2 separate regions of the Homo sapiens genome follow, and region 1 is linked to region 2. The links are contacts of gene promoters, found by promoter capture Hi-C in human tissues and cell types (Jung and others, 2019). All regions are on one chromosome and are shown on one strand. The core of a region is centred on a gene start or on the middle of the fragment in contact, and the rest is flanking DNA. Distances in the headings are between cores, read along the strand shown.

What was found. Contacts are between HindIII fragments. The study calls those that stand out against the background at their distance.
Region 1: a fragment that was not itself captured here is called in contact with the fragment with the promoter of CLEC2D in region 2 in 1 of the 25 tissues and cell types used here (hippocampus).

The regions. Positions count from the first base shown.
Region 1 is chr12:9,450,947-9,457,457 of GRCh38, reverse strand. It overlaps the pseudogene OVOS1P. Among named protein-coding and RNA genes, the nearest start is that of LINC02367, 87 kb to the right of the region's middle. The HindIII fragment of the contact is 3,909 bases long and covers 933-4,841 here.
Region 2 is chr12:9,668,463-9,675,391 of GRCh38, reverse strand. CLEC2D (C-type lectin domain family 2 member D) reads right to left here and starts at 5,679. Exons shown (of 5, transcript NM_013269.6): 1 at 5,597-5,679. The coding sequence starts at 5,657. RefSeq lists an enhancer at 1,801-2,060. The HindIII fragment of the contact is 24,993 bases long and covers 1-6,929 here.

The sequences.
Region 1 (6,511 bases), core at 1,638-4,137, 220 kb after region 2:
GTTAGATCATCCCTTCTGGTCCAGTTGTATTTGTACATGGTTGTCAATCATGTCTACCCAATGATGTCTCCATTGAAGGCTCAAGAGGACAGGGCTCAGGGAGCTTCTGGAAAGCTGAACACGTGGAGGCTGACAAAACTCTTCCCTATGCCAGGAGGGTGGCACACCCCAACTCCACAGAAGCTCCTGGGTTAGGGACCCCTCCAGACTCACCCTATGTATCTCTTCAACTGGCTGTTTATTTGTATCATGTAAAATACCCTTTGTAATAAACCAGTAAACATAAGTGTTTCCCTGAGTTGTGTGAGCACTCTAGCAAATTAATCAAACACAAAGAAGAGGTCATAGGAACCCCAACTTGAAGCTGGTGGGTCAGATGTTCTAGAGACCTGGACTTGCTATCTTGGGAAGGAGGGGACAGTCTTGGGAGACTGAGCCTACAACCTGTGGGATCTGATGCTATCTCCAGGTAGGCGGTGTCACAATTGAACTGGAGGACACCTAGCTGGTGTCCCCTCCAGAACTGCTTGCTTGCTTGGTGTGTGGGGAGAAATTCCCCTGTATGTGGTCATAGAAGTCTTCCATGTTGATGGTTGCTGTGGTGTGAGAGCAGAAGAAAAACACATTGGAGGTGGTTTTTCCACACACAGGCACTTACTATGAATGGAGCTTGCAGGACTGGAAGTTGCTCTGGGTGAGTCAGGGAGTGTGTGTTGCATGCAGGTGAAAGCCTAGGACATTACTGCACACTGTTGTGGACTTTATAAACAGTGGACACTTAGGCTACACTAAATTTGTTAAAATATTGTTCTTTCTTCAGTAAATTAACCTTAGGTTTCTGTATCTCTTTCACTTTATAAACCTTTTAATTTTTTAAACTTTTTGACTCTTGTAATAACGCTTAGTTTAAAACACAACTGTAAAGCTTTTCTTTATAAGCTTTTTTCTATTTAAAAAAAATTTTTTTTAGTTTTTAAACTTTTCTGTTAAAAATTAAGACACAAACACACACATTAGCTCAGGCCTAAACAGGGTCAGGATCATCAATATCACTGTCTTCCACGTGTTGTCCCACTGGAAGGTCTTCAGGGGCAGTAACACGTATGAAGCTGCCGCGTCTTATGATAACAATGCTTCCTTCTGGGATATTTCCTGAAGGATCTTGGCTGAATCTGCTTTTCAGTCAGCTTCGTTTTTGGAAAGCAGAGGCCGGGCATGGTGGCTCACACCTGTAATCCCCGTACTTTGGGAGGACAAGGTAGAAGGATCACATATAGCCAGGAGTTCAAGATCAGTTTAGACAACAGAGCAAGAACCTGTCTCTACAAAAAGTAAAGATAAAAAAAATTAGTTGGGTGTGATAGTGTGCATCTGTTGTCCAGCTACTTGGGGGACTGAAGTGAGAGGATGGCGTGAGCCCAGTTCAACACTTTAGTGAGCTATGATTATGCTGCTGCAGTCCAGCCTGGGCAACAGAGCAAGACTCTGTCTCAAAAACAAAACAAAACTAGAAAGAGTACACTCTAAAATAATAATAAAAGTATTGTAAACACATAAACCAGTAACAGTCATTTATGATCATTATCAAGTATTGTGTACCGTATGTAACTCTCCAAGCTATACTCTTATACACTGGCAACTCAGGTTTGCTTATACAAGGACCACCACAAACATGTGAGTCATGCGTTGTGCTACCATGTTATGATAGTTACTATGCCACTAGGTCACAGAAATTGCTCAGCTCTGTTATAATCTATGGAACCACCTTCCTGTATGCAGTCTGTTGTTGGCTGAAATATCGTTATGCAGCCCGTGACTGTGCATTGGCATTTGTCCACTTGGCCTTCAGCCTAGCTTTGTACTTTGTCTTTGACATTTTGGTTTCCACTGCAATTTACTTCAGGCTTGGACTCCTTGAGGATCTCTCCAAACCTGCCATGGTCTGTTTCTTGCCACCAGTCCCTAGCTGCACATTCTTAGGGCAGCTGCCCCAGCTTAGTCTGATTTATGGGGCCCCTTATCTCGTAACTTTTAGAATCTTGACCAAGTCAGGCTACCCGGCAGGAGGAAATGTCAAAGGCAGAGGCAAAAGTGGCCCTCTCACTTTATCTGTATCTCCAGGGTCTTCCTTTGCATGGTCTCCTTTCCTTCCACCCTCAAGTCCATTCCTCTCCTGTTTCTCTCCGCCCCTCCAGGTTTCCTCCTTTAACCACATCACCTAGAGTCATCTTCACCGTGCAAAGTGGTTTTGTTCAAACTAATGTATTAACACTCAACTCAGTGCAGTTGCCCTTTGAATGATCACACCCAGGAGACTTTTTTCTAATTAGTGTTCACCTTGACTGTACTATATTTCAGTGTTGATCATTTTGTCCTTTGGCTCAGATAGCTGTAAACTGCCTTCTATTTCACTGATTCATCATTCTCTCATCTTCCTTTCCCATCTTCAAATGTGGACATTTCTTAAAGGTCATTCTCTCTTCCTCATTTTTTTTCAAAAACTTTTAAGAAAATATACATAATAAAATGTACCTTAACCCTGTTCAAATGTACACTTCATTCATGTTGGACATACTCGCATTGTTGTGCGACCAGTCTCCAGAACTTTTCCTCTTGCAAAACTGAAATTCTTACACCCGTAAAACAACTCCCTATTTGCCCTTCCCCCAGCCCCTGACAATCACTCTTCTACTTTCTGTCTCTATGAATCTGACTACTCTAGCAACCTCATGTAAGTAGAATAATACAGTATTTGTCTTTTGACTGGCTTTTTCACTGAGTATAATGTGATGGTTAATTTTATGTGTCAACTTGGCTGAGCCACCGTACCCATACATTTGGCCAACATTATTCTGGGTGTTTCTGTGAAGGTGTTTTTTGGATGAGATTAACAATTAAATCAATGGACTCTAAGTAAAGCAGATTACCCTCCATAATGTGGGTGGACCTCATTCAATTAGGTGAAGACCTTACTAGAGCAAAGACTGACTTCCCCTGAACAAGGAGTTGTGCCAGCAGACTGCCTTTGGCCTTGAACCATAACTCTTCCCTAGGTCTCCAGCCTGCCAGTCAATACAATCAGATTTTCACTCACCAGTCCTCTACAACTGCATGAGCTAATTCTTTAAGCTTCTTTTTCGCTGTGTAGATAGACACACACACACACACCCACACACACACACACACACCCTGCTGGTTGTTTCTCTGGAGAACCCTAATACAAATAATAGCCTCAGGGCTCATCCATGTCATAGCATGTGTCAGAACTTCCTTCCAAGACTGAATCATATTCCATTGTATGTATATACCACACTTTATCCACTCATCTGTCAATAGACACTTGGGTTGCTTCTACCTTTTGGCTGTTGCGAATAATGCTGTTATAAACACAGGTGTGCAAAAATGTCTTCAAGACACTGCTTTTACTTCTGTTGTTTACAAACCCAGATGTGAAATTGTTGGATCATATGGTAATTCTATTTTTAATTTTTTTCCATAGCGGCTACACCATTTTACATTCCCACCAGCCATGTACAAATTTCTAATTTCTCTATATCCTTGCCATCATTTATTTTTTGTTTTGCTCCTTTTGGGTTGAGGTTTTTTCTTTCTTCTTTTTTTTTGAGACAGGGTCTTGCTCTGTCACCCAGGCTGGAGTGCAGTGGTGCAATTATAGCTCACTACAGCCTTGAACTCCTGGGCTCACACAATCCTCCTACCTCAGCCTCTTGGGTAGCTGGGACTACAGGTGTGTGCCACGATTACCCCCTAATATTTTTTTAAATTTTTTGCAGAGATCTGGTCTCACTATGTTACACAGGATGGTCTTGAACACCTGCCCTCAAGTTATCCTCTCGCTTCAGCTTCCCAAAGTGCTGGAATTGCAAGTATAAGCCACTGTGCCTGGCTGTGTGTGTGTGTGTGTGTGTGTGTGTGTGTGTGTGCAATAGTAGCCATCCCAGTGGATTGCAGTGGTACCTCATCGTGGCTTTGAGTTGCATTTTCCCAGTGACTGGGATGTCGAGCATCTTTTCATGTGCCTGTGGGCCATTTGCACATCTTTTTTTGGAGAAATATCTATTTAAGTATTTTGCCCATTTTTTTAATCAGATTGTTTTCATGTTGCTGAGATACAGAAGTTCTTTATATATTCTGGTTATTAACCCCTTATCAGATAGATGATTTACAAATACTTGCTCCCATTCTGTAGGCTGCCTTTTCACTCTGTTGATCCTGTCCTTCAATGCACAGAAGTTGTAACTTTTGTTGTTGTCCAATTCATCTATTTTTATGTTATTTTACAAATCCCTCAACTCATCATCAATTTTTTTGTTGCCTGTGCTTTTTGGTGTCATAGCCAAGGAATCATTGCCAAATGCAATGTCATAAAGCTTTTCCCCTCTGTTTTCTTCTACCAGTTTTATAGTTTTATAGCTTTTAACTTTAATTTTTAACTTCATTTTAACTTTAGAAAATCCATCTTAAGTTAATTTGGATATATTGTATAAGACAAGGATCCTACTTCATTCTTTTATATGTGGATACCTCCTTCTTTTTGGAAACTTTTCCTTTCAGTAATCTTACTACCTCCACAGCTTTAGTTTAGATGTTTTTTGTTGTTGTTGTTGTTTCCCAGGGGTGATCAAATCCATATATCCAGCTTTTACCACCTTCCTCAGTTCTAGTCCCCCCATTTTCAAACACCACTGAAAATTTAGTTTGACTAAGTACATCAACCTATTATGTGAAGAAACAACATGTCCCACCCCCACTACGGTGTGGCTTAATGAGCTAAAGTAACATATCAAGATAGACATAATAATCCAAGAAACTGGGGTTCAGAGAAGTAAATATTATTAGGGTGCATCTTGCGCTGTTCCACAGTGAGGCATATAGGGTTTTGGGGACAGAACAATCTAGTCTCTAATAATGTTTTCTCTTATAGCACAGGCACATTTCATGAGCCTTTCCCACTACCTAGGTGTTCCAGTTTGGATGTGGTTTGTTTGGCCTAAGTCTCATGTTGAAATCTGATTTCCAGTGTTGGAGGTGGCGTCTGGTGGGCAATGTTTGGACCATGGGGGTACATCCCTCATGAAAGGCTTGCTGCCCTTATGGCAGAAGTGACTCAGTTCTCACTCTTAGTTCCCGAGAGAATTGCTTGTTGAAAACAAACTTGTACCTCCTACATGCTCTCCTTCTAGAAGAGGATCTAAGGAAATTTATAATAAAAGCAGAGGAACGCTGAAACCAAACCCAATTCATATCAGTAATAGCTACCATTTGTTAAGCTTCCACAATGACATGTAAGATGTTAAGCCCTTTATGTTACCAGGATTATCTCACTTATCTCATAAGAATTCTAGAACATAGGTCCTATTATTATCTTTATTTTATTCGTGAGAAAAGCAGAGACTCAGAAGGCTTAAGTCATAGGCCAAGGTCATTCAGCCAGTTGAATGGTGGAGTGGGGAATATCTGGATCCAGGCAGTCAGACTTTTTTTTTTTTTTTTTTTTTTGAGACGGAGTCTCGCTCTGTCGCCCAGGCTGGAGTGCAGTGCCGTGATCTCGGCTCACTGCAAGCTCCGCCTCCCAGGTTCACGCCATTCTCCTGCCTCAGCCTCCCAAGTAGGTGAGACTACAGGCACCCACCACCACGCCCGGCTAATTTTTTTTTTTTTGTATTTTTAGTAGAGACGGGGTTTCACCGTGTTAGCCAGGATGGTCTCGATCTCCCGACCTCGTGATCTGCCCACCAGGCAGTCAGACTTTATTAGAAAATGCACTTAAAATTAGCAAGAAGGAATGAGAACAACAACAACAAAATTAAAAAATGCTTGCCGAAGAAAACTAAAACAATGTACAATATTTAGCCCTGAGATCACTAGCAGTGAAGGCAAAGAAGAATGCATAATGGGTTTCTATAGCTCTTACTGTCCGGTTATAGAAAATATTTCTACATTAGTACAAGCACTTTTCTTCCTAAGCCCTGAGTTTTGAGAGTTTATCAAGAAGGCCTCTGAGTTCATTCAATTAATGGCATCATCTAAGGCTGTTTAATAACAAATGCAGAGGTAGTCCACATAAGGAACTTTTGCCTTTACCTTTGAGACAAAGCCCAGGGCCTCACGTTAGGAGTACAGCTCTCTAAATATAAGCCTCCAGGGCAGAAGCGAGGGGAGGATGGAGGGACACAATGCAGATTTACAGCCTGGTGGGTACGGCCTTTGTCCTCTCCATGTCTATTGTCACTCTTGAGGTCTAAGCCTCTACTGCACTGCTTGGTTTACTGCACAACCCAACTTGGCTGCTTGCTTCTGGTCTCTCCAAACCATCCTTCACACTGCTTCCAGCTTACTATTTCCAAGACACTGCATTTGCAAATCCACTCCTCTGTTTAAAAATGTTTCAGTGACTTGCAACTTGTCTACAGTGTGAAGTATAAATTTATTAGCTTGTTGTTTAAAGCCTTCTACAACCAGACCCCGACCGACCTTCACGTCCTATTGA
Region 2 (6,929 bases), core at 4,430-6,929:
AAACCCCGTCTCTACTAAAAATACAAAAATTAGCCGGGCGTGGTGGCAGGTGTCTGTAGTCCCAGCTACTCAGGAGGCTGAGGCAGGAGAATGGTGGGTGAACCCAGGAGGCGGAGCTTGCAGTGAGCCGAGATTGCGCCACTGCACTCCGGCCTGGGCAAGAGAGTGAGACTCCGTCTCTTAAAAAAAAAAAAAAAAAAGGAATAGACAAATAAATTAATGAAAAAGGATAGAAAGCAGAGTAGCAGACTAAAAAGAAATAGACCCAGATAAATATAGTCAACTGATCTTTCATAAACAAGCAAAGCAATACAATTAAGAAAAGACAGTCTTTTCAACTAACGATGCTGAATAACTAGACACCCACATACAAATAAATGAATCTAGGCCCAGATTTTACATTTTTCCCCAAAATGACTCAAAATGTATCATAGTCCTAAAGGTAAAACACAAAACTGTAAAACTCGTAGAAGATAATATAAGAGAAAGCCTAGATAACTTTGGGTATGGTGATGACTTTTTAAATATAATACCAAAGGCACAATCCATGAAAGAAAGAACTGATAAACTGGACTTCATTAAAACTAAAAACTTTCAACCTGCAAAAGACATAATCAAAATAATGAAAAGACAAATTATTAATATCATATGTCTTTTGAGAATTGCAAGTTAAAATAATGAGATATCATTACATATTACTTAAGTGTTACATTAAAACATTAACAATATCAAATACTAGCAAGGATGTGGAGCAACCAGAAGTCTCATGCATTACTGGTAAGAAAGCGAAATGCTACAGCCACTTTGGCAGTTTCTTACAAAAGAAAACATACTTGAAGGGAGGGGCCAAAATGGCCAAACAGAAACAGCTCTGGTCTGAAGCTCCCAGTGAGATGAATGCGGAAGGCAGGTGAATTCTGCATCTCCATCTGAGGTACCAAGTTCATCTCATTGGGCAGCTGGTGCAACCCACAGGAAGCAGGAAGAAAGCAGGTGGGGTGTCATTTCACCCAGGAGCTGCACAGGGTGGGGAGACTTGCCTCCCTGAGGTAAGGGAAGTGGCGAGGGTCTGTCCTACCCACCAGGTGTACTATGCTTCTCCCACAGATTTTTGCAATCTGCAGATCAGAAGATTCCCTCATGAGCCTACACCACCAGGGCCCTGGGTCTCAAGCACAAACCTGGGCAAACCAATGACAGCCACTCCCATTGGTGGCTGTTTAGGCAGGCACTGAGCTGCAGGAGTTTTTACATACTCCAGTGGTGCCTGGAACTCCAGTGAGGCACGAGAACCATCCAGTCCCATGGAAAGGGGGCTGAAGCCAAGGAGGAGAGCCCAGCAGTCTCAATCAGTAGGTTCTACTCCCATGGATCCCTGCAAGCTAAGACCCACTGGCTTGAGATCCCTGCTGCCAGCAGAGTAGTCTGGAGTGTGCCTGGAATGACTAAGTTCCTGGGGGGAGGGGTGACCACCATTAGTTGGCGGTTTGCCCCTGACAGTGCAAAGGAGCCTGAGAGGTTTGGACTGGGCCAGATTTCCCACAGTGCAGCAAACTGGCTGTGGCAGGTTGTGGCCAGACTGCCTCTTTAGGTGGGACCCTGAGCCATCCCTCCTCACCAGGCAGGTCATCCCTGCAAGAATTCCAGCAGCTCTGGTCAGGGGCTTACAGACAGAACTCTCATCTCGCTGAGTCAGAGAACCTGAGGGGAGAGGCAGTTTCAGGTTCAGCAGACTTATCTTTTCTGCCTGCTGGCTCTGAAGAGACCAGATGAACCCGATGAGTGGGATTCCCCCAGCACAGCACACCAGCTCTGCTAAGGGAATGTCAGATTCTCTACATAAGCGGGTCCTTGATCCCATGCCTCCTGACTGGGTGAGACTTCCCAACAAGGGTCACCAGACACCTCATACAGAAGAGTTCCGGCTGGCATCAGGCCAGTGCCCCTCTGGGGCAAAACTTCTGAAGGAAGAAGCAGGCAGCAATCTGCTGTTCTGCAGCCTCCACTGGTGATACCCACGTGAACAGGGTCTGGAGTGGATCCCCAGCAAACTGCAGCAGACTTGCCTCAGAAAGGCTGACTGTTAGAAGATAAACAAACAAACAGAAAGTAACAACAACAACATCTACAAAAAAGACTCCACAAAAACCCCATTCAAAGGTCATCAGTCTCAAAGATCAAAGGTGGATAAATCCACGAAGATGAGGAAAAAACAATGAAAAAACGGTGAAAATTCCAAAAGCCAGAGTGCCTCTTCTCCTCCAAATGATCGCAACAGTTCTCCTGTGAGGGCACAGAACAAGGCTGAAGCTGAGATGGATAAACTGACAGAAGTAGGCTTCAGAAAGTTGGTAATAACGAATTTCGCTGAGCTAAAGCATTATGTTCTAACCCAATGCAAAGAAGCTAAGAAGCATGATAAAAGATTACAGGAGCTGTTAACCAGAATAACCAGTTCAGAGAGGAACATAAATGACCTGATGGAGCTGAAAAACACAGCACGAGAACATCATGTTGCAAACACAAGTATCAATAGCTGAATTGACCAAGCAGAAGAGAAAATATCAGAGCTTGAAGACTCTCTTGCTGAAATAAGGCAGACAGACAAGATTAGAGAAAAAAGAATGAAAAGAAATGAACAAAACTTCCAAGAACTATGGGACTATGTAAAAAGACCGAACCTACCACTGACTGGAGTACCTGAAAGAGACAGGGAGGATGGAACCAAGTTGGAAAACACACTTCAGGATATAATCCAGGAGAACTTCCCCAACCTAGCAAGACAGGCCAATATTCAAATTCAGGAAATCCAGAGAACCCCAATAAGATACTTCATGAGTAGATCAACCCCAAGACACATACTCCAAGGTCGAAATGGAAGAAAAAATATTAAGGGCAGCCAGGGAGAAAGGTCAGGTCACTGACAAAGGGAAGTCCATCAGATTATGAATTTTGAGTGCTACAATATGCCAATGTAGGTTATTAATTGTAATAAATGTACTGCTGGTGAAGAATGTTGATGTTAGAGACTGCTATGGTTTGAATGTGTCTCCAAAGTTCATGTGTTAGATACTTAATCCCCAATGCAATAGTGTTGAGAGGCAGGTCCTTTAAGAGGTAATCAGGTCATAATGTCCTTATAATGGGAGTGGGTTTACTATCACGAAAGTGGATTTGTTATAAAAGCAAGTTTGGTGCCTCTTGCTCTCTCTCTTTCTTATGCATGTGCTCTCTTGCCCTTCCAAATTTTGCCATGGGATGATGGAGCAAGATGTGTTTCTCAGTCTTGAACTTTCCAGCCTCCAGAACTATGAGCCAATAGATTTTGTTCATTATAAATTACCCAGTCTTGGGTATTCTGTAATAGCAGCACAAAACAGACTAAGACAGAGTCTATATATGTGTGGCAACAAGGAGAAAATGAAAAAAAAAACTACCTTTCTCACAATTTTGCTGTGATCCCAAAATGGCTCTAAAAATATGGTCTTTAAACAAAACAAAAAAGAGCAAAAGGAAAAAGGATATACTAGCAGCAGATCTTACAAGAATATCCAAATTTAAAGAGCCATCAAACCAGTGGTGAATTTAAATTTCCCTCCTCTAGTATCACTGCCCCGAACTTAATACAGCCAGAAACATGGAATTGAGCCTCTGTCAGCATAAAGAGAGGGCTCCAGGAGAAGCACTAGAGGTATGGTCTGAGGAACAGAAAAGCAAACTCCTATCTCAAATAGAGTGTGAAAATACCACGTTTATTTTTTCTCCCCCTCTTGTCTACATTCTCATGTGCCTCAAACCTCAGGCAATCTGATGATGGTAGGGGAAACTACAGCAACATGCAATAGCCAAAACCTTGAGAAAGGTTAATCCTCGGCCGGGCGCGGTGGCTCACGCCTGTAATCCCAGCAGTTTGGGAGGCCGAGGCGGGCGGATCACAAAGTCAGGAGATCGAGACCATCCTGGCTAACACGGTGAAACCCCGTCTCTACTAAAAATACAAAAAAGTAGCCGGGCGTGGTGGCGGGCGCCTGTAGTCCCAGCTACTCAGGAGGCTGAGGCAGAATGGCGTGAACCCAGGAGGCGGGGCTTGCAGTGAGCCGAGATCGCGCCACTGCACTCCAGCCTGGGGGACAGAGTGAGACTCCACCTCAAAAAAAGAAAAGAAATCTAAAGTCAATCCTTTCCATTCAGTTGAGCTGTAGCTCCATGAGAGTGGGGCCAAACCTCTTGCTTTTTTTTTCTTCTTTCTCACTGTCCGTCTGCCACATGAGCTTAAAGATGCAGCTATAATTGCAGAAGTATATGGTTCATCAGAATAAAAGGAGGCCCGCATTTCTAGCTGGAGGATGGAAAGGAGAAGCCCCTGGGAACCTGAAAGTACGGGTCAGATGGTGAAGAGGAAGAAACTTTAGAAAGAGACCCATGAACATTATTCATAAACTCCTGGATTCACCTGCCCCTCAACTTATGCATGCCTAGATATGGTTCTAATTGGCACACTAAAGATGCTAAGACCTGAACTAATGAGTAGAGCATTGCACAGTTCCCAATTTCACCCCTGGTTGATGCACATGTCTGAATAGCACTACAAAGGCTTTCAGAATGGAACTGACATTGGAACCAGATCCCACAGATTGTCTTCATCTCACCAGGGTGATTGCTTGCTAAAACAATAGTATCAATATACTCCAAAATTTAAATAAGATCCAGTCTAACTAAATATTTGTTCAAAATGTTCAAATTACAATCCAAAATTACACAGTATATGAAGAACCACGAAAATGTCAACTTCCATGGGGAAAGAAAACACAAGCCAAGGAGGACATGACAGAGATGTTGGAACTATCCGACAAACAGTTTAAAGCATTTGGTATAAAATGCTCAAAATACCCAATGAATGAAGAAATAAATGAAGTCATTTAACAACATTTAGAGTTCATCTTTTTCTGCCTCTGAATTACCTTTTCTCCAAATTGATTACCTTTTAAGTTGGGAGGAGAAAACTCCAAACTTTTAAGTCCTAAGTTATAAAACCTTGATATTCCCTAACTGTGGCAAAAGTCATTTTTTTCACTTACTAAAGCATCATATAAAGCTATATATATATATATTTCCAGTGCATCCAATGTAACATAATTCCATTAGAATGCCCTACTAAGTTTCTACTCAACCTTTGTTACTTTTTTGATTTGTAAATGTCCTTTACATACTATTTTCTACCTTTTCTCTCTTAAGAGCTTCCATGATAGGTTTTCTACCTATGTAATAATGATGGTATCTTGTATCTGAGTAACACTTTAGAGTTTGTATAGATTTTTTTTTAGTGAAATTAACTGTTATTTTCAATCCTAAACTTAACCTTATCTCATTGTCTTACATCTTTCTCTCATTGTTCCCTCTCCTTAGTTGTTAGAACTGGGAATATAAATATATGCATGTTTTACACAAATTATAAGCCAATTTATGGACTCCCACATTCCATCTCTTATCCTTGAAAACTTTTTACTAGATCAGCACCTTTCCTGTGTGAGCCCATCACTACCACTACCTTCCCATTCCAGTCCTCACACTTACTCTGTAGAGCCCAGCTTCTTACCTGGGTTTGCAGGCAATTCAGATGGTGTAATGTCTTTCTCCACATTGTTACTGTCATGCATTTTGCCTCCAGTTTCTATGAGTGATCTAAACCACAGTCTCTACGTTTTCAACCCCAAGAATGATTCAAAACAAAACAAAAAAAAAGCCCAACGACTAAAACGTGTAAGTGTGTAACCGCCCCAGTAACTCAAAATGTCAAGCCTTTAAGTTAAATATAGCTAGAGGAACAAATGAAGCATAAATTGTTTCAAAAATCAGCTCATCACAACAGAATAAACTGGTGTTTGTAAGAATTTTAAAAAGTTGAAGCTACTTCTCTAACAGTATTTTGGTTACGAAAGAAACTAATGTTTGATAACTTAAAATTTCTTTGACTATTAAAAATTATAATTGTATTTTGTGCGGTACAAAGCAATATTATGATAGAAAATAAGAATTTATTGAAAGGAAGGAGTTGGCTCTCAGAGGAAATGAATGTTAGGTAAGTAAAGACAACAGCAATTTTAATCTCAAATTAAAATTCATTCCCAAGAGTTTACGCTCATTCAAAAAATATCTTGTTTTCAATTTCTTCAAGATATTTTGGGAATTTGCTGCTATGGCTGCTACAACAACTTTTCAAAAATGGGCTTGAACGGTGTGCAGCTTCTGTGCTCCCTCTGGCATGATCCAGGAGCACAGAGGCTCTTTAGCAGCAAGAGCTTCTTGTCAGATGTGTTGATTTCTTGTATATAAATGCCAGTAAGGGCACCTTTTACTAAAATATAATTTATAGTAATGTGCACAAATCATAAGCATACAACTAAACACATTCATTAAAAATATAACATGTAACAAGTGCCTAGATGAAGTATATCTTAAAACCACGTAAAACAATACCAACACGCTATGTGCCCTACTCATGTCCTGCAACGCTCATTACCCCAAATACAATCTCTATCTTAACTCTGACAACATATTTTCCCTGCTTTTGAATTCTATACAGTAGCCCCCCTTACCTGTAAGAAATAAGTTCCAGATTGGACAGCTATTGCCTTTATCAAATAGAAATGAAGTTGCATTAGGACTGAGTTCCAGTTTCTGTAAGATTTTATATATCTTTTTCTTTACTATTTCATCATTTCTAGTTTGTCCTAGGACCTATGATAAAGCCTTCTAGTAATTCCATCTGAGAACCTGCTTTTTATCAAAGCTGCTTCTCTTTCTTGGAAGTTGAATTTGGTTTTGTCTCCTGAACAACATGTGATTGCCAAAAGTTCAAGTCTGTTTTTCACATAGTTCTTCCTAACCTCCTTTCCTGTGAAATTTAATAATTTGAAAATTGCTTGAGA